3 separate regions of the Homo sapiens genome follow, and all the other regions are linked to region 3. Evidence: promoter capture Hi-C in human tissues and cell types (Jung and others, 2019). All regions are on one chromosome and are shown on one strand. Each heading gives the region's core, a stretch centred on a gene start or on the middle of the fragment in contact. The rest is flanking DNA. Distances are from core to core; before and after follow the strand shown. Region 1 overlaps RIPK2 (receptor interacting serine/threonine kinase 2). Region 2 overlaps DECR1 (2,4-dienoyl-CoA reductase 1). Region 3 holds the start of LRRC69 (leucine rich repeat containing 69).

Evidence for each region. The method cuts DNA at HindIII sites, captures the fragments that hold promoters and counts their contacts. A contact is called where the count stands out against the background at its distance.
Region 1: a contact is called between a fragment that was not itself captured here and the fragment with the promoter of LRRC69 in region 3, in 1 of the 25 tissues and cell types used here (lymphoblastoid cells).
Region 2: a contact is called between a fragment that was not itself captured here and the fragment with the promoter of LRRC69 in region 3, in 1 of the 25 tissues and cell types used here (spleen).

What each region holds. Positions count from the first base shown.
Region 1 is chr8:89,771,359-89,774,650 of GRCh38, forward strand. It overlaps RIPK2 (receptor interacting serine/threonine kinase 2), which reads left to right. Exons shown (of 11, transcript NM_003821.6): 5 at 383-432; 6 at 1,309-1,470. Among named protein-coding and RNA genes, the nearest start is that of RIPK2, 15 kb to the left of the region's middle. The HindIII fragment of the contact is 5,414 bases long and covers 1-3,292 here.
Region 2 is chr8:90,028,094-90,031,492 of GRCh38, forward strand. All of the region lies in intron 5 of DECR1 (2,4-dienoyl-CoA reductase 1), which reads left to right. Among named protein-coding and RNA genes, the nearest start is that of DECR1, 28 kb to the left of the region's middle. The HindIII fragment of the contact is 3,670 bases long and covers 1-3,330 here.
Region 3 is chr8:91,101,206-91,104,503 of GRCh38, forward strand. LRRC69 (leucine rich repeat containing 69) reads left to right here and starts at 1,414. Exons shown (of 8, transcript NM_001129890.2): 1 at 1,414-1,639. The coding sequence starts at 1,457. The HindIII fragment of the contact is 5,612 bases long and covers 1-2,392 here.

The sequences.
Region 1 (3,292 bases), core at 387-2,886, 1.3 Mb before region 3:
TGCTGAGAGCAGAAAAAAGGCAGTAGAATAGAGCTCCATGAGACAATTTTTTTCTTGTTCTTTGTTCTTTGTGAAAAATAATATCATTTAATTAAAGGGCATAGCTTATCTGGGTGTCCAAGAATTAAATCATCCACAAAAAGTTAATCTTGCATGTAACGTTAAGCTTGTATTACAGTAATTTCCTAATTTTTTAACTTAAAGTTGATTTTGTTTCCAAACTACATGAGCATTTATCATCTTCATTGTATACAGTAATTCTTTGCTGCCTTATCACTTTGAAAAATGGTATCTTCAGTCAGCTTTTAAAAATAGTGCTATTTTAGTTTATTATGCAGAGTTCATTTAAAATATGTAACATGTATGTTCTTATGTTAAACAGCTATGCAGTTATCACATGGGAAGTGTTATCCAGAAAACAGCCTTTTGAAGGTAAGTATGGTTTGACTTTTTTATGCTCAATAACATCATGTTAGTAGGTCACTCTCAGAACTATCTAAAAATCATGTTATTTTAAATCTGCTTATTCATTTTGTGGAAAACACACTAAAACAACCATTTATCAGTTGTGAATGCATCACATACTGCAAAATATACCGGGTTAAGGATCCAGTTGTGAGTCTACTATATACTGGAAAATGTACTGGATTAAGGATCAGAAAAACCCAGATTTTAATTCTTGTTCTGACAGTAATTAGCTCTGTGATCAAGTCACAAATCTCTTGCGTCCTCATTTTTGTCGCCTGCATAATAAGAATTTTAAATTACTATTTCCAAGTTCTAGTCTAGCTGTAAAATTATTTATATGATAATTTAATTACTACCCCCTCTATAAAGACTAGCAAATATCGAAGACTAATCTGTCCTTTTTATTCCCTGAAAATATTGTTTATTTCTTTATTTTGAGGTTTGTGTAGGTCAGCTTGTTGTGTAACAAAAAACAACCTCGGAATCTCCGTAGCTTATGAAATAAACATTTATTTCTCATTCACATTAAATATTGGTTGCTGTAGCCCTTCTTAGTTCTGCAAGGTTTCGCTCAGCTCTGCTTTACAAATACTCTGTTGACCAAATCCAATCACATGGTCAAGCCCAAAATTAATGAGGTGAGGATATAAACTCATTCCATAGGAATCAGACAAGTCTGGCAATGGTTTGGGGTATATATATTCCTTTTACAGAAAGGGGGGTAAGGCATCATTCCTAAAATTTCAATATTCACTTATTTTCTTTTAGTTAGTTTTAGATGTAAGTAATATGCTTAATCATAATATATTACTAATGAATGCAATCTATTTGTTTTGACAGATGTCACCAATCCTTTGCAGATAATGTATAGTGTGTCACAAGGACATCGACCTGTTATTAATGAAGAAAGTTTGCCATATGATATACCTCACCGAGCACGTATGATCTCTCTAATAGAAAGTGGATGGGCACAAAATCCAGATGAAAGACCATCTTTCTTAAGTGAGTATATAGTTTTAACCTAGACTCTTTGAATTACAGAATTAGTTAATATACTGTGAATAAAATATTCCTTGAAAAATTGTGCAAATTAGATGACTAGCTAGAAGTTGTTTAAATTATTTTCTGTCTTATCATAGCATTTATATATGAGTAACTCCTTCTAGAGCAGAATTGAGAATTCCTAACAAAAAAGAGAAATCGTGTGATAGGAGTAACAATTTCTTTCATATATTTAACAAATATGTCTTAAACCCCTACCATGTGCTATGTATATACTGGAGTGAGCCCTGGGAACAGAGTAGTAAACAAGACAAACTTTCTGTAGCTAGTTCACATTCTAGTTGAGAAGGCAGAGTGAAAACAAATAAATAAGCAAGATACACAAATTGTGACAGTCTTATAAGGAAATAAGCAAGGTAATAGACTAATTAAGGGAGGGAAACAAAGGCCTTTTTTTAGGGGCAAACATTTGAGCTGACATTTGAAGCTTGAAAAAGAGCCAGTCATTCAAATGCTGAAGAAAGAGTATTCAGCCAAACAAAACAGCAAGCATAAAGGCTCTGAGCCTAGAAGAGGAAAAAGTTTTATATTCTCAAGAAACAGTGAGAAGGCCTGTGTGGCTGGAATACAGTGAGCAAGGAAAGGAATTAGATGATATTGGAGAGTTAAGAGAGAGGCTATTGGCCATCATAAAAAGGTTAGATTTTTATTCCAAGTGCAATGGAAAGCCATTAAAGTATCTTTTGCAGGGAAGTGACATGATCTGATAGAAGTTTAGGTGAAATTCTTACTGCTGTGTGGAAAGTTGATTGGAGAAAGACAAAAGTGGAAGCAAAGAGGCTAGAAAAGACACTTTCAGGAATATTCTAATTAAGGTGGAAATTCTGAAGACAGAAGAGTTACAGAATTAAGATAGTATTTCAGAGGTAGAATGGATCAGACATCCAAATGTAAATGTAGGAGAAAATCTTCATGACCTAGGGTTAGGCAGAATCTTTAAATATGACATCAAAAATAAATAGGATTCATTAAAAAATTTATAATCAGACTTTGCAAACATTGGAAACTTTTCCACTTCGAAAGGTACTATTGAGAAAAGAGAAAGCCAGGCATTTAGTGTCCACGACTTTAGTCCCAGGTACTTAGGAGGCTGAGGCAGGAGGATCACTTGAGCCCAGGAGTTTGAGGATGTGTAATAGTGCACTGTGATCGTGCCTATGAATAGCTACTGCACTCCAACCTGGGCAACATAGCAAGACCTCATTTCCAAGAAGGAAAAAAAAAAGCAGAGCCACAGACTGGGAGAAAATATTTGCATAACATGTATCTGCTAAAGGGCTTGATTCTAGAATATATAAAAAACCCTGACAAGTCAATAATAGGACATATAGCCCTATTTTTAAATGAGTAAAAGATTTGAATTTCACCAAGGGAGATATACAAATAGCTAAAAAGCACATAAAATGATGCTTAATATTATTAGTCATTTGGAAATGCAAATTAAAACTGCAATGAGTTACCACTTCATACCCACAAAATAGCTATAATTAAAGACAGAAAATAACAAGTGTTGACAGTGATGTGGCAGAACCAAAATCCGTATACATTGTTGGTGGGAATATAAAATGATGCTGCCACTTTGGAAAACGGTTTGGCAGTTTCTTAAAAATGAAAGATAAATTTACCATACAACCAAGCAATCCACTAACAGGTAAACCAAGAGAAATGAAAACATATGTTCACACAGTTGTATGTGATTAGTGATAGCAGCATTGTTTATAATAGCCAGCAAGTAGAAACGGTCATAATTACTGCTGCTACT
Region 2 (3,399 bases), core at 246-2,745, 1.1 Mb before region 3:
GTTACCTCGTCCTTTGCACCTGCTCTGGCAGCTTTGTCCAACAGGTGATAGGTTGGCTACAGCCTTGCTTTGCGAAATTGTTACTTTAACCTGAATCCAACAAAAGCCTCTTGTGCCGCCATCAGAGGCATATTATATAAGTGTTCAACATAGTGTGATACTCTTCATATTTGGATTTTTTTTTAGCATCTTAAGTTACTTAACATTCAAGTTAAAATGTTGGCCTCATGTCTATTATTGTCTTAAAATTACATTTTGATTGTATCTAGATAAAACTATTTTTCTTAAAAAATTTTTTTTGCTTTTCTTGCATGTATTTATTGAAAAAATATATGACAGCCTACTCAGATATTGTACTTGATTTTGGACTAGCTTTGGTGTTGAGTCACATGGATTACTTTATACCAGAAAGCTAGAATTCCTTATACCTAAGAACATATGAGAATTCTATAGTGATTCCCACAAGTTGTATATTAAATAAAGGTATATGATGTAACAGGTGTTGGAATACAGAACAAGCAAAATGTGAAATATTCTTTTTAAAGACATTACCTAATTTTAACCAAATTTTCACTTATTTTTACTTCCTTCTTTCCTTCCTCCCTCCTTCCCTTCCTTCCTCCCTTCCTTTCTTTTTTTCCCTTATAAAAATCTTTCCTTCCTTCTTTTTTTCTTTCTTTCTTTCATATCTAATGTTTATTGAGTGCTTATTTTGTATCAGGCTTTGTTCTAAGTGCTAAATACTTATTAACTCATTTAACACTTGCAATGACCTTGCAAGTAAGTGCTCTTTTATTCCCATTTATAGACATGGGTGGAAACTGACGTACAATCTTTTTTTAATGTAGGAAGTGAATTTTTAACGCTCACATTTACAGATGAGAAACTATGGCTTATTAATTACCTAAGTGTTAACTATTACTATTAAAATCGACAATTGACATAATTTAAAAAATTAGTTGTTGTAAGTGGTCTAGTAGAGAAAAAGAAGGAACTGTGACTTTTTATTGTAGTCATAGTCACTTAGTTTACACCTGATACTTGGACAGTTAGTGAGTGACGATATTTTACTGTTATTCAGCTTTTTCATCTATAAAATATACTTGATAATAAATTACTACTCCAATATTTAGTAACAGAACAAGGCGTTAGGTGTAGAAGCCTCATGAAAAATATAAATTGTTTTACAGATGTACATGTGCTTTTTCTTACATGTGAATGGACATCCGATAGCCTAGCTAACATAAAGACTTTGGTGGAAATAACTTTTAAGAACCTCAGAGAATTTAAAACTAAGAAGTAGAAGCAACCCAAGGAAGCTTGAACCATATGGAGCTTGTGTTGGGGAAAGGGAAAGAGTGAAGTGAATAATCTTACCAGCAGCCTTGTGATAGAGGAAGAGAATAAATGTAAATCACCAACTGAAGAAAGAATAAAAACAAAGGACTGTTTTAGTTAATAGAGAAGAAGAAACAGTTTTCAAGGCCAGAGGCCTTGGAAGCATTGAACTAAGTAAAGTACATTATACTGTTTTTACAGTTTAATTAAATTATCAGAAAACACAAGATTTTTTAACCATCTTGCTGTTCTTCTGGAGTCCCTGATGTGTGAACCGTAAACACAAGAATAAATTTCAAAACATTCCTTTTTCCAACCCATAGACATTGTACTTGGCCAGTTACTCTTCCTTGTCCTCCATAATGGAGCACCCTCAGCCTGTCCAGTCTCTATACTAGCCCGTTTGACTGATCCAGTACACATGCCCTGATTAGAATCATTCTTTACCTGAGCCATAGAGTCTCCATTCCCAGCTCTAGTCCACTCCTCACTGAAGGATTACCAGTTCAGGGGCTAGCATGCATACTTTAGCACAGTGGTCCCCAGCCCTTTTGGCACCAGGGACCATTTTCGTGAAAGAAAATTTTTTCACAGACCAGGGGAAGGTGCAGGGGGTGGTTTTGGGATGAAACTGTTTCACCTCAGATCATCAGGCATTAGAGTATCATAAGGAATGTGCAAGCTAGATTCCTTGCATGTGTAGTTTGCAATAGGGTTTGCGCTCCTATGATAACCTAATGTCACCGCTGATCTGACATTAGGTGGAGCTCAGGCAGTAATGCTGGCTCACCTACTGCTCACTTCTTGCTGTGTGGCCTGGTTTCTAACTGGCCATAGACTGGTATGGGGCTGGGGTGTGGGGGTCCCCTGCTTTAGCACTTAAAAACATGCTACATCTAGTTATTGTTTCATGTTGTAAGTCTCCTTTTCCATCAACTCTCCGTCCATTACAAATTCTTTTATCAGGGTGCATTACTTCTGCCCTACCTGCAAAGCCTTTCCATTCCTTCCCCACCATTTCCTAACTCAACACTGAACACAAATGTGGTGCTTTGTTTATGCAGTGAAACATTTTGGAGACCTGCAAAAGGAAGGTGAGTTGAGTACATACTTAACACTTCTTTCAATTATGTCCTTCAACTTTACTATTGGAGGGAAAAGATGACCAGTCATTGACATGATCAGTTGGAATGGAAGCAAATGCACCTTGTTTCAGAAGTGGGAAGAGTAGAGCATAGCAGAAGGCTTTCCTTATTCGTCAGTAGTGTGAGTGCAAGGTGTATGTTGCTTAGAGTATATAAGAACCACATAAGTACATTTCTTTATATTGTGTCCAGAGATTTTGTTTTTTTCTAGAACAGTGGGTGCATCTAAAGAATATTTGAAAACACATTTTTAGTTATCAGTTGAAATTTATTAAGGTGGTATTAGTATCCTTTTGAAATCACTTTTTTCTAGAGTCATCTCGTTTGATGGGAGAGTTCAACCTCATCTGTTAAAATTTCTTAGAGCAACTGTGTACCTTATTTTGATGTTTTTTGAAGATAAGGTAAAGGTAAAGCGATTTGAGAATTTTGAAAATAAATTAGTTTTTCTTTCTAAGTAGTAATTAGAAATTTCTTGGCAAGGCAGTAGTAGTTACATAGTAGTTAAGAGTGCAGGCTCTAGAGCTTAACTGCCAAGTTCCAATCCTGGTTAATACTTATTAGTCCTATCAACTTGGACAGATTAGCTTGCTGTGCCTGTCTTTTCTGTAAAATAATGTTGATAATAAAGCCTTCCTCCTAGGATTGCTGTAATGATTATAAGAGCTAGTGTCTATAAAGTGTTAAGAATAGTTCCCGGGGCAGACTAGTACTCAATAAATGTTAGTTATGAAAGAAAATGTTAAGTTTCCTCCAAGATAAATGTATTTTTACCACGTCTTTTACAAGGGGACTATCAACTATCTGAAACTTAGGTTTTGACTCATAATTAAAATTAGTTAGAAAAACCAGAGCCCTGATATCCCTTCTTACTATAATTAAACTTAAAAATAGCAGCCTACATGAGGGACATATT
Region 3 (3,298 bases), core at 164-2,663:
CTTCCTGTATAGCCTGCAGAACTGTGAGCCAATTAACCCTCTTTTCTTTATAAATTACCTAGTCTCAGGTATTTATAGCAGTGCGAGAATGGACAAATACAAACCCCTATGTGTCTATTACTCAGCATTAATAATTATCAACATTTTGTCAATCTTGTTTGATCAGTTTCTTCCACCCACTTTCCCCCCTAGATTATTTTTAAAAAAACTCAAGATATCATTTTATTTCACTTGAAAATTTCAGTATGCATTTCTGAATGTTAAGCACATTTAAAATAAATACTACCACCATACCATTTTCACATGTAACAGAATTAATTTCTCTCATCTAATAGCCGATGAACAAATTTCCCTGAGATGTTTGTATTCAACTGAGGATTCAAATACAGTCCAGACATTGCATTTAGCTGTTATTTGCCCTAAGTTTCACTTACATCGTAACAGTTTTCCCTCCTTTTTATTAATGTCTTTCATTTGTTGGTGAAACCTTGTGACATTGGACCAGGGACCAGTCCTGTAGAATCTTCCATGTTATAGATTTGACTGTTTCCCTATAATGAACTTAACTTATTCTCTAGTTCTGTTTTTTTGTAAATGGTAGTTAGATCTTGAAGCCATGATTAGATTCAGATTTAATTTTTGGACAGGAACATTTCATAGGTGGTGCTGCTGTGTACTTTTTAATTCATTACTTCATAAGGCTTATAATGTGATTGTCTCAATTTTATTGATGCTAAAATGATTAGTGGGTTATTAACCTGATCACTTGATTATAAAGTTCCTCATCAACCTTTCATCTAATACTTTCAGTCTCCAATTATGATTTTTGCATAGCTCCATTATTTTATTAGAATTTGCAAAAATTGTGATTATTCTAGTTATTTTGTCTTTCTCATTTATTAGTTTCAATTCTTGTGAATAAGAACTTTATTAACTATTAAGTTATATTTAAGTGCAGTTTGTACTGGAAAAGCAGAATAAATGCTTATATTTTTTCCTTTATCAATTTTCAGACTGAGTTGGTGCGCTAGTAATTCCCAGGGTGAGTAATGTTTCTTTTTAAAAAATGCCATTATGAACTCAGATTTTAATGTGTTTTGATATGTTTCAGTCTATTCTAGATTATTTCTTTCTGATCCTTAATATTTTCCATCTTAGACTAGTGGGAGCTCCTAGAAGTTCACTTCTGTGTCCTCATTAATCTCTGATAGCTTTAATATCGCAGGCATAAGCTATTTTAGGCTTACATTATACATTTCCTGCCCCAAACCTGGACCATCTACTTTCCTTTCGTATCTTTCACATAGGAAAATAATCTAATGCTTCCCCCCTTCAACATGGTGGATCTCAGAATGTTCTTGTTTCTATGACACACCAATTCTGTAATTAGAGGTTCTAAAGCTGTATAATAAAGAACTCTAATGGTTACCTTGTTTTCTACTTCTTTTCCAAGATCATGACTGAGAGATTGTTAATAAAAGCATTGAGTGGTGGTAAAAATACGAAGATCATTACTTTGAATGGGAAGAAGATGACAAAGATGCCCTCAGCATTAGGAAAACTGCCTGGCCTGAAGACTCTAGTCCTTCAGAATAACCTAATCCCCAAAGTGTGTCCAGAGTTATGCAACTTGACCCAGGTGAGGAACAGTGTTTTGCTGTTGTGGTTTGGTATTGAAGATGGAAAACAGGAAGAGAGAAAAAAGGGGTAAGAGACAGAACAATAACACTTCGATCTATGGAGACTTAGGTATCTGGAGACTTAATGTGGAGTGTTGCTGGAGAGGCATCAGAAGGCTTTCTCCCTTAGGGAATTCCATGTGGTAGGGAGAGATGTTTCAATTTATTCATGTGCTCTTTGGCCCACATCTGGAGTCAGGGGACTAGGTCTCTGCCACACTCATCTTTTTAGAGGCTGTCATCTGGAAAGGGGTTGGAAACCTGGATCTGGTCGTCTATCTTGGGGGCTTACATCTGGAAGTAGTTTTGAGGATCCAGGAGATGCTGTTCACCCTGGGGACTGTCCTGAAGCTTTTGCATTTAGAATGAAGAGACATTTAGGATGCAGCAAGGGAGTTCCTTTTCAATTTCCTAGGGCAGGCTGAAACTTTGAAATGGAGTGTTGGCAGGGAATAGGAAGGAGGGGACATTTATTTCTCCTGAAATAGTCTTTAAAGGAAGTTTAATATTTTAAATAAAAAATATTCTTTTTTAAAGAGGAATAGTTGACATGAATGAATCCCATATGCTTGTGTTAAACCTTTCTGCCTAACAATGTGAAACTCTAGCTGCCAAAAATCTTGAGGTTGAGAGAAGGCAAGGGATATTAACTTTGTAATTTTCTTTTTGTTCACTGCTGAATTGTCATCAGCACAGGAAGAACCTAGAAGCAGCTAAGGCGTTATAGCTCATTAATTTTGAATTTACAGTTCCAAAAAATAAATCTGTATTTTCTTACTTTCACCCTACCTCATTTCCTTTTACGTTTAAGAAATTGAGTTTGTAATCTGTAGTTGTATCTTTATAAGAAATAGGGTAACTTTTACAAAGTCCCCCTTCATTAGTAATTGCAGAAGGTATACTTGTAGTTACAAGACAACAAGGACTTGGAATTTTTTAATAGGAAAGAGGAGTTTCTTTGCAAAAGAATTTGGGACTTGACTGAGTCATGAACCTATTCTCTCCCTCTATTTGAATTTATTTCCATTAAAGTAGTACTAACCATTGGTTACCGAGAATTAAATATTACAAAAAGCTTATAGCAAGAAGCTATCTTCTATCCCACTTCCCCTCATCCTCAATCCCGATCTCCATATATAACCACTTTTAACTCATCTATTTTATTGATTTGTCTATTTTTGGCATCATTTTTCTTCATCTTCTAGATACAGTTATATTAATGTATCTATTGTGTATTGATCCACATCTGGAATCAGGGGATTAGGTCTACAGGTATCTTTTACATGTAATGTTACTACACCTTTATTTCTTCCTTCATCAACTGCAGTCTCTTTTGACTCCCCACTTCGTAAGATGACAGTGTCAGCCTTTGTAATCCACCTTCAGCTGTCCTTTCCTCTCCCCCCTCACAAACTCTGAAGTTTTTACTTTTATAACACTTACAGCTTTTATATCCTATTCAGTTATAACCATAATTAAATATTTGTTTTGTGTCTTGGGTAACTCTAAACTTCTAAAAATATATATTACTAATAAATAAATATTCACATGGAGTCAATTAATCTATGATTATATTTTCTTTCTTATATGCCATTTTTGTTCCCTTGGAGTTTCTAATA